Linked DNA regions of Homo sapiens: region 1 is linked to region 2. The links are contacts of gene promoters, found by promoter capture Hi-C in blood cells and fetal thymus (Javierre and others, 2016). All regions are on one chromosome and are shown on one strand. Each heading gives the region's core, a stretch centred on a gene start or on the middle of the fragment in contact. The rest is flanking DNA. Distances are from core to core; before and after follow the strand shown. Region 1 holds the start of GMCL1 (germ cell-less 1, spermatogenesis associated). Region 2 holds the start of FBXO48 (F-box protein 48).

Region 1 (6,708 bases), core at 3,879-6,378, 1.4 Mb after region 2:
AATGCATTTAGTCCAGTAATTCCCATTTTATGAAAATTTATCCAGAATAAATCATTAAGAAAATATACAAAAATGTAACTACAATATGCTTATTGAAGCAGTGTTTATAATAGTGAAAAATTGAAACAACGTAAATATCCAACAATAGGGAGAGGGAGGATGTGATCAAATAAATTATTTTACCTGCATACAATGGGATATTCTGTAACCATTAAATAATGTTGTAGAATAATATTTAACAAAATAGGGCCCTAGCACGGTTGCTCACGCCTGTAATCCCAGCACTTTTTGGGAGGCCAAGGCTGGCAGATCATGAGATCAGGAGATCAAGACCATCCTGGCTAACATGGTGAAACCCCATTTCTACTAAAAATACAAAAACAAAATTAGCCGGGCATGGTGGCAGGCGCCTGTAGTCCCAGCTACTCAGGAGGCTGACGCAGAAGAATGGCGTGAACCCGGGAGGCAGAGCTTGCAGTGAGTCAAGATGGCGCCACTGCACTCCAGCCTGGGTGACAGAACAAGACTCTGTCTCAAAAAAAAAAAAAAAAAAAAAAAACCACAAACAAAAATGAACAAAATAGGGAAATAGGCTATATTGTTAAGTGAAAAAGCAGAACACAGAATACTACTGTTCTATCACATTGGGTATCTAGATACATAGAAAAAAGACTGGAAGGACATTCACACATCAAAACGGTAAGAATAGTAGTCTCTAGATGATGGAATAATGGTTGATTTTTGTGTTCTTTTTTGTCTTTATTTTCTACACTGAATAAGTATTACCTTCGTAATAAAAAATAACAAAAAAAATTTAAAGCTAAGAAAAATCCAGCCAAGCTTGAAAAAGTTGGCTTAGATGACTTTGAACTGTGTGTTTCATTTTAAAATCTATTTATCTAACTTTGCTTCCCTATCGAACAGGGTGACACATCTGGAGACTACAGGAAAGTACTGCTTGTTCTCTGTGGAGGAGATGATTAAAATAAAAATCCCAGAAGGACAGGAGGATTCTCAACACTTTGAATTTTTTTAACTTCATTTTTCTACACTGCTATTATCATTATCTCAGAATGCTTATTTCCAATTAAAACGCCTACAGCTGCCTCCTAGAATATAGACTGTCTGTATTATTATTCACCTATAATTAGTCATTATGATGCTTTAAAGCTGTACTTGCATTTCAAAGCTTATAAGATATAAATGGAGATTTTAAAGTAGAAATAAATATGTATTCCATGTTTTTAAAAGATTACTTTCTACTTTGTGTTTCACAGACATTGAATATATTAAATTATTCCATATTTTCTTTTCAGTGAAAAATTTTTTAAATGGAAGACTGTTCTAAAATCACTTTTTTCCCTAATCCAATTTTTAGAGTGGCTAGTAGTTTCTTCATTTGAAATTGTAAGCATCCGGTCAGTAAGAATGCCCATCCAGTTTTCTATATTTCATAGTCAAAGCCTTGAAAGCATCTACAAATCTCTTTTTTTAGGTTTTGTCCATAGCATCAGTTGATCCTTACTAAGTTTTTCATGGGAGACTTCCTTCATCACATCTTATGTTGAAATCACTTTCTGTAGTCAAAGTATACCAAAACCAATTTATCTGAACTAAATTCTAAAGTATGGTTATACAAACCATATACATCTGGTTACCAAACATAAATGCTGAACATTCCATATTATTATAGTTAATGTCTTAATCCAGCTTGCAAGTGAATGGAAAAAAAAATAAGCTTCAAACTAGGTATTCTGGGAATGATGTAATGCTCTGAATTTAGTATGATATAAAGAAAACTTTTTTGTGCTAAAAATACTTTTTAAAATCAATTTTGTTGATTGTAGTAATTTCTATTTGCACTGTGCCTTTCAACTCCAGAAACATTCTGAAGATGTACTTGGATTTAATTAAAAAGTTCACTTTGTAAGAACGTGGAAAAATAATTTTAATTTAAAAATGGTGTTTTTAGGCCGGGGGCGGGGGCTCACGCCAGTAATCCCAACACTTTGGGAGGCCAAGGCGGGTGGATCACCTAAGGTCAGGAGTTCAAGACTAGCCTGGCCAACATGGAGAAACTGCATCTCTACTAAAAATATAAAAATTAGCCGGGTGTGGTGGCTGGTGCCTGTAATCCCAGCCACTCGGAGGCTGAGTCAGGGAGAACTGCTTGAACCCAGGAGGCAGGAGGCAAAGGTTGCAGTGAGCCGAGATCACGCCAGCCTGGGCGACAGAGCGAGAATCCATCTAAAAAAAAAAAAAAAAAAAGTGTCTTTAAAGTGAGGTATAGTCTTTCTCTGATCCACTTTTCACCTTCTGAGGTTTTTCATCTTGGCCCCTGAAAGGAGCTATTTTTGAAGGACTTGTGTTACTCAGTTTCTACAGGAATTACAAGATAAGAAAAAAAAAATCATATTTAGTCTTATGCGTGCCTACTGGCTAATGTTCACATATGCCAAACACTACTCAATAACATAAAATAATGTATGAACTTATTCTCTGGAAATGAGTGATGCCCTCTGCTCTAAGTAGACCATTTATATTAAATATCATAAATGTATAAAGGACATTCATATTCTTATAGTGGGAATACTTGCCTTTTTTGTTGATTTTATAGCATCCATTGTATTTTGGTGAGTGAAATAATAAGAATTTTTTAGTTTAGTGTTGTTTATTATAAAAGCTACAGCTACTGGTAGAAGCTACTTATGTGAATATTTAGTCACTCCAGTTACTTACAGGAAATAATACTACCACTTCAATGCCTTCCCAGAAGACCACAGAATCTCCACATCAGCTTTGTCTTTGGAAGCATGGTGATTTTTTTGGTAGAAGTTTTATCTTTAAATGATATGTAGCTTAGCCAAAATTTTAAAACAAATAGCATTGATTCACCAGAAGATTTCTAGAAGGTGGGATAAAGTCACCCTGGACGAATGTTTGTCATATTGAATTAGCATGACTTTGAGATATAATTATGTTTGTTTTTCCCTCCCACTGTCCACTTACATTTATTCAGTGGGCAGTTCTTCCCCTTCTTCAGATGTAAATTCAGATAGAGTCATGACTTTTCTGTTCACTCTTAGGTTTTAAAGTCCTACTGTGTAGTCCCTTAAGGTCATAAAACAGTGTCATTTTAGTAAGTAATATATCCAGTCAAAATTGCAAGCTTGATTTACAGTTGATGCTTCTTCCCTCACTCACCTCTGGCCTATTGCAAGTAGGAAGCTGGTTTCTGGGGAAAGGGAGACCATGGGCTTCTCTTCTTTTTCCACCTAGGTTTCCTTCAATGTTCTCCCCCTGCCCCAACCTACCATGTCTGGGTTGTAGCAAAGAAGAGAGTTAAGGGGAGCAGGAAAGTTGTTACCTGACTGTCATTGCTGTGGTGGTAGAGGATCAGCCCTATGTGACCCTGACAGACTAAAGTTGATTCTTGTGGGCATTCTTGTGGGTTCCTTTGTCAACCTCATCACGCTACTCACCTGAGGTTCCTCTGGCAAGGCAAATGTGTACTCCTTTTTCAGCCTCTAGGAATTTGGTGACTCTTTGAGGTTCTCAGTGCTGAAGTTCATTGCCTTCCTCCCAGGCCTGTTGGGCAGGACCTAAGCTGTCTCATGGTGGTCCACATCTGCTCCATGGGAAACACCTGCACGTTCTTTGTGCTGGCAAATTCTGTGTATGCAAGCTGATCCCTCTGCAGCCATTATTCTCCGCCTCCCACCTCCACCCCAAGCTGCCTCGGCTAGCCTCTCTCGGTTCAGATTTCTCATGCATGAATCAGACATTAGTCCACGGGGACCCTCAAACTACGTATACTGCCAATGGGAGTCTAAATTGGTACCTTGATGCAATCAACCCAGAGAGCAATTTGGTAATAGCTAACAAAGTTGCAGATTTCGCAGCAAATTCACTTTTGGGAATCTGCTTGGTGAATCCATTGCACATGATGTTCATTGCTGCTCTGTAAGGCCGTTAAAGTAGAAATAACCTCTCTCACTAAGGAATGTAAAAACAAATATGGGTCAGTCATACAATGAGCAGTGAAAATTATCTAGCGATTGACCAAATGGATAAATCTTGAGAGTATAATTTTGAGAGAGGAGAAAGGTGCACAATGAGAGGTACAACTATGATTCCATTCCATGATATGTCTAAACATGCAAAAGAAAATATTATTTATGGGTATGCATATAAGGACATGCATGGACATGATATACAACATTCTCAGCACAGTGATTGCCACTGGGGAGGGAGACAGAATGAGATGGAGGAGGTACGCAGGGGCTTCTGCCTATATGTATTGTTCTATTTAAAAAAGAATGAATCATTGATTACACCTCAATAAAGCTGGGAGGAAAAAAGAATGAAAGCAAGTCTGATAAAATTTCAAGCTAGTGGTCGGTCCACAGGAATCTGTATTACTCTATTTGAAATATTTTCATTATTTTACTTAAAAAGTAACAGAAGGGAGTCAGGGAATGAACGCTGGCTGTCCGGAGTCCATCACAAGAGCTGCTACTACTCCAAGCAGACACTAGTAAATTTTGCTAGGGCCTCCTGAAGGCACTTTTGAGTCCAGACAGTCATGGTGCCAGACCCTATTCGGACATCCCACTGGCACTTGAGAGGAAAGGAAAGGAGTGCCGGGAACGTTCCCATAACTTAACGGGTTCCATTCACGTCTACAGCAGGGGAGGGCTCATGTTAAGGAAGCCCAGGAATCCAGCATATCGCCTCATCCTAGGGCCCCCTCTCACAGGAGGCCACGCCCAAGCAAGCAGAGCGTGGCCCCAGCAAGCGCCGAGCTCCCGCAAGGAGACCAAATAGCTTCGGGGTTTTGCCACTAGCTTAGCACAGGCCCATAAGCACCGGGGACTCAAGGCACCTTTGTAGAAACAATGAGTGACTGGAGTCCCAGGTCTTGCCACTACAGAGGCGCGTATGAACCACGGTTTAACACTACGTCTACGCCGAAGTTCGGGTTAGTCAGAGGCCACGCCCACCGCAGGCCCGAAAACACCAGCCTGCACTGGCGCGCCGGATTGTGCGCAGGCTCCACCTGCCACGCACGCACGCCTTGCCCCGCCCCTTCCGGAGGCTCGCCGTACGCATGCGCCCTCCGTCCCGCGCTTTGTTGCGAAAGCGAGGGGGCGAGGTGCTGCGGTGCTAGAGCGCGGCGCGACCGGACGCTGCGGGCGGGGAAGAGGATGGAGACTGTGGCGTCCGCTGCAACGGTTGGGGCTGCGCGTGAGAAGGTGGCGGTGTAGGCACCTGCGCTCGGGGAAGGCTGGCGGCGGCGGCCGAGCCATGGCGGGAGACCCCCTTCTCTGGGCTCCCTGAAGTCTCGGGGAGCCGTGACCCATGGGATCGTTGAGCAGCCGGGTGCTGCGCCAGCCAAGACCAGCCCTTGCCCAGCAGGCGCAGGGTGCCAGGGCGGGGGGCTCGGCCCGGAGGCCGGACACTGGAGACGATGCGGCGGGCCACGGATTCTGTTACTGTGCGGGCAGCCACAAGCGCAAGCGGAGCAGCGGGTCCTTCTGCTACTGTCACCCTGACTCGGAGACGGACGAGGATGAGGAGGAGGGGGACGAGCAGCAGCGGCTCCTCAACACCCCTCGAAGGTACGTGGGGGCACGCACCCGCGCGGACCCGGACCCGCACCTGTTGGGCCTGGGGCCGAGCCGGCGCCTCGTGCGCTTGCGGGGTGCAGCGCTCCCCAGCCTATGGAGAGGGGACGTGCCCTTGACAGGGTGAATGTGGAAGCCGGCCCGATGCGGGGCGGACTGGGGAGCGCCTTGGGAGACGCCAGGTGTTCCGCATTTTCAACCACAGACGCTTCCAGGGTGTTGTTACAGCCCCAAGATGAGGATGAGAAACGCCAAGCCCGAGCTCGCGTCTCGTTAAACCTTAGAGACGCCCGGCTGGCTGGCCTTCCCAGTCCACCTTTGCCCTCTCAAGTGGGTAGCCGCAGAGTAAGTTGTTTTGCATCCGGTTGCCTTAGTACAGACACTAAATGTAATCTCTGAAATAGGCACTCTTATTGTCGCCCACTCAGTGGAGGGTAAGTAATTGCACACAGGAGTTCTTGTTAATTGTAAAGGTGAAGTTTATCAATAGTGTACATTTGTTCCTAACTAGGAACAGAGTCTGTGCAAGTTTCTAGTAGTTGATGAAGTCGTTGACCGTGGATGTACTGTATGTAGGGCGGTGCTGCTGCAGCTTGTTTAACCCCTTTTTTTTTTTTTTTTGGATGAGTTGAAAGATGGAATATTGACTTGTGACCTGGAATGTAGTTTATAGGTAGAATATATGCTTACACAAACAATTTGGTTTTTCTGCTTTTGTTTTTAAAGGTTATTTGGTAGGGTCACACATGAAATTTTTTAAATGATTTCTTTTTCTTTTTGAGACAGAGCCTTGCTCTGTCACTCAGGCCGGAGTGCAGTGGTGCGATCTCAACTCACTGCAACCTCCACCTCCTGGTTCAAGCGATTCTTGTGCCTCAGCCTCCCGAGTAGCTGGGACTACCGGCGCGCACCACCACGCCTGGCTAATGTTTTCTGTTTTTAGTAGAGACAGGTTTCATCGTGTTGGCCAGGCTTGTCTCAAATTCCCGACCTCAGGTGATCTGCTGGCCTCAGCCTCCCAAAGTGCTGGAATTATAGGCGTGAGCCACTGCGCACCCGGCCTAAAATTAAACTTTAAAAG
Region 2 (6,443 bases), core at 327-2,826:
AGTCAATCCTATTAAACTCCTGAATACTTGTTGTACATGGGAACTGATGCCTCATCATTAATTTGCAATTTGTGACTTAATCATAAACTTGCTGGACTTCTAGTTGTTTATATAAGAATTTTATCTACTTGTATCTTATAGGTAGGTAGGTGCTTACATTTGACACAACTACTATCTGAAATGGACAAGAAGATGAGATCTGGATTATGAAACAAAGTCTCAAATATTCAACTCAGTCATAAGAGTAGTGTTTTAGAAATGGCCCCTTGAAGCTATCCTACATGCATAATTACAAGCTAAGGATAATAGTCACTGAAGACATCAAGCAACAGTGAGTGACAACTGTAAACAATGTTTAGAACTCAGCTAGGTACAGTATGTGACTCTTTGAAGCCCAGATTTAAAGCTCAGTTTCAGCTAATTTACCTAAGGTGAATGGTGTAGGCTTCCCAAATCAGTTGAAAGCATGACTGGGTACATCACCATCCTTGAGTTACTTTTGTATATAAAGACAGCTTGTATTCACTTAAAATCAGTTTATTCCATTTTGCACTTCCTTTTATAACGGGGGTTGGTTGTGCAAGAGGAGAGGTTTGAGGTAAATACTTCTTTTAACTCAGCTGAACACAAATCTCTTTTCTAGACGAGCTACTCAGCTATGTTTTCGGACTTGCCAAGACCACGGTGGCTCCCATTCATGATCCAGATTAGCTGTGGTGGCTGGAACTGCAGTCTGTGTTCAACAGAGGTCTTCTTCTTGAGGGTTAGGAGAAGTAAGAAAGCAAACGTAAAAACGGGTGAGTCAAGAGCAAGTTTTTGCCATGCACCTTGGCCCCTCCCACCACCAATACAAACCAAAGCCAAACCACAACGTTCTTGAAAAGAATCTCACATTAGGAAAACGTTACAGTGCATTTAAACGTTACAGTGTGTTTATCCACTTCTCCCAGGATCTTACTGGGAGAATAAAATGCGTCCCCTTGTGGAATTCCTGTAACGGGAATGAAGGCTTTTGAATTTCACAGCAGGGGATACCTTTGCGAGTTTCTAAAATCCCACTAGGAATCTTTCTTCTACGTCCAGGTTCGCCTGGATGCCTGGAAACGACCCCTCTTCTGCCCTTTCTCCTTTATGAACTGAGCTTTCCTGAATTCTCTCTCAAGTGAAGTAAAAGCTCGTCCCCCTTTCAACTATCATTCGGAGGGATAGATCGGCGGCAGCGCAGTCGGAGGGGCGGGGAGCCCCACTCCGTCCAAATCCCGCGGGTCAGGGCTAATCACCCCACGTCCCGTCTGAGCCACCCTCCTTGTGTCCCGCGCGGGTTGCAGCTGCTGGAACCCAAGAACACAGGGCACTGACAAGTGACAACAACCGTCAGCGTTGACTGTCACTGCGGCTCCAGGCCGCGGAGGGAAGGCTGAGCTTGCGTCCAGGCCGCGTCCCCGGGAGCGTAGACACCTAAGCCAACGGGAACGGAAGACCCTTCTACCTACTAGGCCGCGGTAGCTTCTCCTCCCGCGATTTAAATCCACCGGAATTCGAATCCTTCCCCATAGCTCTTCGCATCCCGCCCACCTGAGTCCCGCCCTGCTCAGAACTCGCGCAGGCGCCGAGAGGGGCGCGCAGTGCCTTTGGGGATTGGTAGTTTTTTCCAGGGCGTCTCCGCTCGGGAAAGGAAGTGAAGAAAGCCACCAGGACTACAAGGCCCGGCGTCCTCCAAGATGGGAGGGAGGTGAAAAGGGTGTTGGGGAATAAGCCGGGGTTTTTAAACAGTAGTTTTGAGGCGGCGAGACTGGGGAATCCCCGGTTGCGTCATTAGTAGGCGTGGAGGGGCGGGACTCGTGAAGCTGCGCTGGGGCCGGGCTCTGAGAGGACCGGCGCAGCCGCGGGGAGCCTTTGAGGCCCTCCCTCGGTGTTTTTTCCCAGGGCGTGGGCTTGCCCCGCGCGTGTCTGTGGAGGGCGGAAACAGCGGAGGGGCCAGTCTCCTGGCGAAGGGGCCTAATCCTTGCCCGCCATGTCCGGGGGCTTCGAGCTGCAGCCGCGGGACGGCGGTCCCCGGGTGGCCCTGGCGCCCGGGGAGACGGTGATCGGCCGCGGGCCGCTGCTGGGAGTAAGTGTGGGCGGGGGCTTAGCGGACCCCGAGAGCCGTGGAGTTCCGCGCCGGCTCCTGAAGACCGGCCCTAGTCCTGGCCGGTTTCCCCACCGCACTGGTCCGCCGGTCCGGATTTTAGAAGTTTGGGGCCGCACGTTTTTCAGTTACCTTTAAGCCAATTCACAAACATTTCTTTATGTTGCTTTTAAAACACTGACTGTATTACCATTATTATCTTATCCAGGGATTGGCAAACTAGTGCCTGGGGGCCAAATCCAGCCTATGTTTGTATGGCCCCATGAACTAAGAATGATTCTTAAATTCTGAAATGTAAAATGTAAACAAAAAATCTACTAATTTTTCAGGGGGAATAGTTGCTCCAAGGGTTGAGGGTATTGCGGCTTGTCTTGTAAAGCCTAAAATATTTACAGTAGTGTCTGGTCCTTTACAGAAAAGTTTGCCAAACTGTGATATTACGTCTTCTAGGCTAATTTCTTTTAACCTTTGGTCTCCTTTGCAGAGCTGTGTGGACCTTATTTATTTATATTATTTATTATTTCCAGTAAAATGAGTAGCTAACCCTTCATAAGTAATGTGTATAGCGTTCGTGTCATTGGTCTAAGGAGACATTACCTATACCAACATCTTTAACTGTCTCAAGACCGTATCAGTTAGCTATTTTTATTATCCTCATTGTTCAGATGAGAAAATTGAGCCATACATACATTATTTAAAGTCCATACATAAGCTTTTGGACACATAATGCCACAAAGCTAAATATTCTCTACCTTCTTTGGGAGAGGTTTAGGAATAAGAACATTTGCATATTGCATTCTGGAATTCTATAGATCTCTTAAGTACATCTAGTTTTCTATTTTGTTCTTTAACATTCAACATTTCTTGTTTGGTGCTCACTGTGTAGAACATTTTGCAGATTCTAGCACTGTGGGGCATACAAAGATGAATGGAACATGGGTCCCTACCCTTTAGGAGTTTTCTCTTGGGACCGGGGAGACACCTGTGTCAGTGAGCTAACACCAAGGAGTAAGGAGTGTGTACTGTTGTCCTGGTTAACTTCCAGAGTCTAAATGGAACCATTGGTACTTGCCTTAGGTCCCTTCTGGGAGCAGGGAAAGGAGTGGTAGTTTAAGATTGTATTATGGAAGCTGGTCCTAAAGGGGTGTGTGTGTGTGTGTGTGTGTGTGTGTGTGTTGTGTGTTGTGTGTTGTGTACATGCACATGTGCATGTGGTAAGGTTATTGAGGAAGTAGATATTCAATTGCTGTTCATTTTTTTACTGGACAAGTGATTATTTAAATATTTAACATCATTTCTATTTTTTTCATCGTTTGTTGGCCTATACAAACACTGGAAGGAACTGTCTGGAGGCTTTATTTTTCTTTTAAATTCGTAGGTTTGAAACTTAAGAGTATGTGCTTAATCTAGTAATCATATGTCTGGTGACTAACGAGTTTTGACTTGCTTAAGAAATTGTCACCAGTAGAGTACTGTGGGTCTGGTTAAAAGGTGGATGAATTTTAGGGCCGTGGTTTAGAAACATGGCAACAGATTGCAGACCGTTTCATTATTTGTAGCTTGTTCTTTGTGTTGTCGACTTGCTAATGTGAGATGAGCCTATTTGGTATCTGTTTTTAAAAATGGTAAGGAGTGAAAGCTGGGCAATTACCTGGTCAAGATTTTGCTTTTCCTTTTGAAATAACATTCAGGGATGAGATTCTTTTGCCAAGGTTGGCGTGTATCAGAAGTGGTTATGAATGACATCCTAAGTGTGTTAAAGGAAAAATTTGGAGAACAAACAAATCGCCTTGTAGTTTTTTCGATTTTGGAGCTGACAGATGCACTCGATTCTTCTCTGCACTGGTTAAAACACAACATAAGGGCTCCTGTTTCCAACAACAGCAATTCCAGTGAGATTTATTTTTGTATTGTGAGAGAGCGAAGACTGAGTTCTAAGTGGAAAACTCAGTAAGTTCATTGTAAATTGGAATCGGAAACGATTAATATAAATAAGGATGATTTTGAACTTTCTTAATTGGGCATGTTTTTCTGAGACAAGCTTCACAAACCTTGATGGCCACACAAACATAAAAGTTTATAATCTGACTGTGTAAAATAGTCTTGGTAGTAAAACAGTTTGACAATGAGAATGGTTTTGTATTTTTATGGTGGTAGGAAAACACAACAGAGAAACCTGTCACAGAGAACAAAGGACAATGAAATTTAATCTTTCTTGTTCCCTTTGCTTTCATGTGAGTCATCAGAGAACCCCAGGTCTTTGTTTACTAGATTTTGATTCTGCTCCATGATTGGCATCAGTTAGAAGGTTTTACAGCAGGATTAATCTTCAGAGAACTTGAGTTAAAACAGCCAATCCAAAAGATTACATATTGTGTGATTCCATTTATATAACATCATTGAAATTGCGAAATTGCAAAATTTCAAAAATGGAGAACAGATTAGTGGTTGCCAAAGGTTAAAAAATTAGGCAGCAGGGCAGAAGGGAATGGATATGGCTATAAAATAGCAACATGAGGGATATTTGTGGTGATAGAAATGTGCTTTGTCTGGACTGTGTCAGTATCAATATCTTAGGTTGATATATTGTACTATAGTTTTGTAAGACGTTACCATTAGGGGAAACTGGATAAATGGTACAAGAGATATTTCTATATTATATCTTTCAACTACATGTGAATCTACCATTATCTTAAGAAATTTAATTTAAAAGGGTTTTACAGTACGACATGTCAAGCACTGTTAGGCCAAAGTATTTGCTTTATGGGTTTTAATTAAAGCTGTTACACTCTTAAATGAAATCTACTATTTCTGATTTCAGATTTTTCTTATTTTGTTTTGACAGCAGGGATTATATGACACATTTCTTTATGATCTATTTTCCTCCTAGGAAACAAGATAGCAAAAGATATCTAGTGATACTTTCTCAATGTAGATGTAATTAAATTGACTGCTTTGATTAAAAGGAGAAGAGTCCTCAGTTGGGGGAACAGGGAAGGTCATAGGCTTCAGTATAGACTCTTCAGGTGGCATCAGTTCACCACTTCTAAGAATGTTGTAAATGTTCTACAAAGTTTACACAAAGTAACCATCCCCTGACCTGGCAGCTCTATACTTTTAACTGCTTGTTGCAGAATCCTGGCTGTCCTGGAATGCTGTTCCTACCTGCTCCAACATAGGTTTCTTCCCTTACGTTTCTTTTATTTCTAGATTTGCCCTTCCCTCATTTTATTATTTAGCCTACAACCAGTGCCTAGCACACAGTAGGCCTTTAACACGTGATTTCTTCCTTCCATTTCGGCATCTCAGCCTCTCATTCACTCTACCCTCAAAAAGAGCCTAATTGTGACTTAGATATGAAAAAGGGTTATCATTGAGTTTTGAAGTGAATTTAAATATAGTAAAGATGCAGTCCTACCAACTGCTAAATCTTGAGTAGCATTCATAATGAATTAAGTTTTAACATTTTTCCTGTTTTGTTGATTGATAATTCGCTAAATTCAGGAAATAGCTGATAAATATATACTATGGTTGGATGGGAGGGAGTATAGGAGAAATAAAGGTGAATGAGAAACAAGTCTTTGCTCTCAAGAAACTTATAGTTTTGTAGGGTTAAGAGACAAATAAACAAGTATTAGTAACTAAATAAGGCTACAACCTCACATGGGGACTGGCGCCAGGCTGACACTTGGAGTAAGCGAAGTGGGAGGGAAGAAGAAAAACAACACAGGGACAGTGATAAATGACAACAGTTCTGCCTCAGTGTTGGGAAGGCCACAAGGAGAGGGTCTCTATGCAATCCCTGCTACTTTCCCCTATTCCCAGTTGGTAACAGTGTCATATTGTTTTTTTAAGAATAGTAAGAAATTTGAATTTTTAGATATAATCACTGATTTTTAAAAGGTCACATTTTTATTAAAAGTTTTGGTTAAATACCATGAGTCTGTTGATGAAGAGTTAAATTCTATAAAATATTTCAAGAGATTTATTCTGAGCCAAATATGAGTGACCATGGCCCGTGACACAGCCCTCAGGAGGTCCTGAGAGCATGTTCCCAAGATGGTCAGGGTACAGCTTGGTTTTTATATATTTTAGGGAGGCATGAGACATCAATCAAATACATTTAAGAAATACATTGGTTTGGTTCAGAAAGGCAGGACAACCCAAAGCAGGGGCTTCCAGGCTATAGGTAAATTTAAACATTTTCTGGTTGACAATTAGTTGAGTTTATCTCAAGACCTAAGATCAAAGGAAATGTTCAGGTTAAGATAAAGGATTGTGGAGACGAAGTTTTATTTTGCAGAGCTCTCAGATA

Evidence for each region. The method cuts DNA at HindIII sites, captures the fragments that hold promoters and counts their contacts. A CHiCAGO score of 5 or more calls a contact.
Region 1: a contact is called between the fragment with the promoter of GMCL1 here and the fragment with the promoter of FBXO48 in region 2, in 1 of 17 cell types (fetal thymus). The highest score is 5.1, in fetal thymus.

What each region holds. Positions count from the first base shown.
Region 1 is chr2:69,824,532-69,831,239 of GRCh38, forward strand. It overlaps GMCL1 (germ cell-less 1, spermatogenesis associated), which reads left to right and starts at 5,129. Exons shown (of 14, transcript NM_178439.5): 1 at 5,129-5,621. The coding sequence starts at 5,362. It overlaps LOC124906021 (a long non-coding RNA gene), which reads right to left and starts at 5,000. Exons shown (of 2, transcript XR_007086846.1): 1 at 3,483-5,000; 2 at 1,211-2,247. ANXA4 (annexin A4) reads left to right here. Exons shown (of 13, transcript NM_001153.5): 13 at 925-2,581. The coding sequence ends at 984. RefSeq lists enhancers at 4,165-5,086, 4,481-4,570, 5,087-6,007 and silencers at 4,981-5,210, 5,591-5,670, 5,618-5,793. The HindIII fragment of the contact is 7,336 bases long and covers 3,168-6,708 here.
Region 2 is chr2:68,465,718-68,472,160 of GRCh38, forward strand. It overlaps FBXO48 (F-box protein 48), which reads right to left and starts at 1,577. Exons shown (of 4, transcript NM_001024680.3): 1 at 1,494-1,577; 2 at 427-753. APLF (aprataxin and PNKP like factor) reads left to right here and starts at 1,868. Exons shown (of 10, transcript NM_173545.3): 1 at 1,868-2,110. The coding sequence starts at 2,015. RefSeq lists enhancers at 658-717, 811-1,706, 1,707-2,601 and a silencer at 1,943-2,152. The HindIII fragment of the contact is 4,492 bases long and covers 1-2,838 here.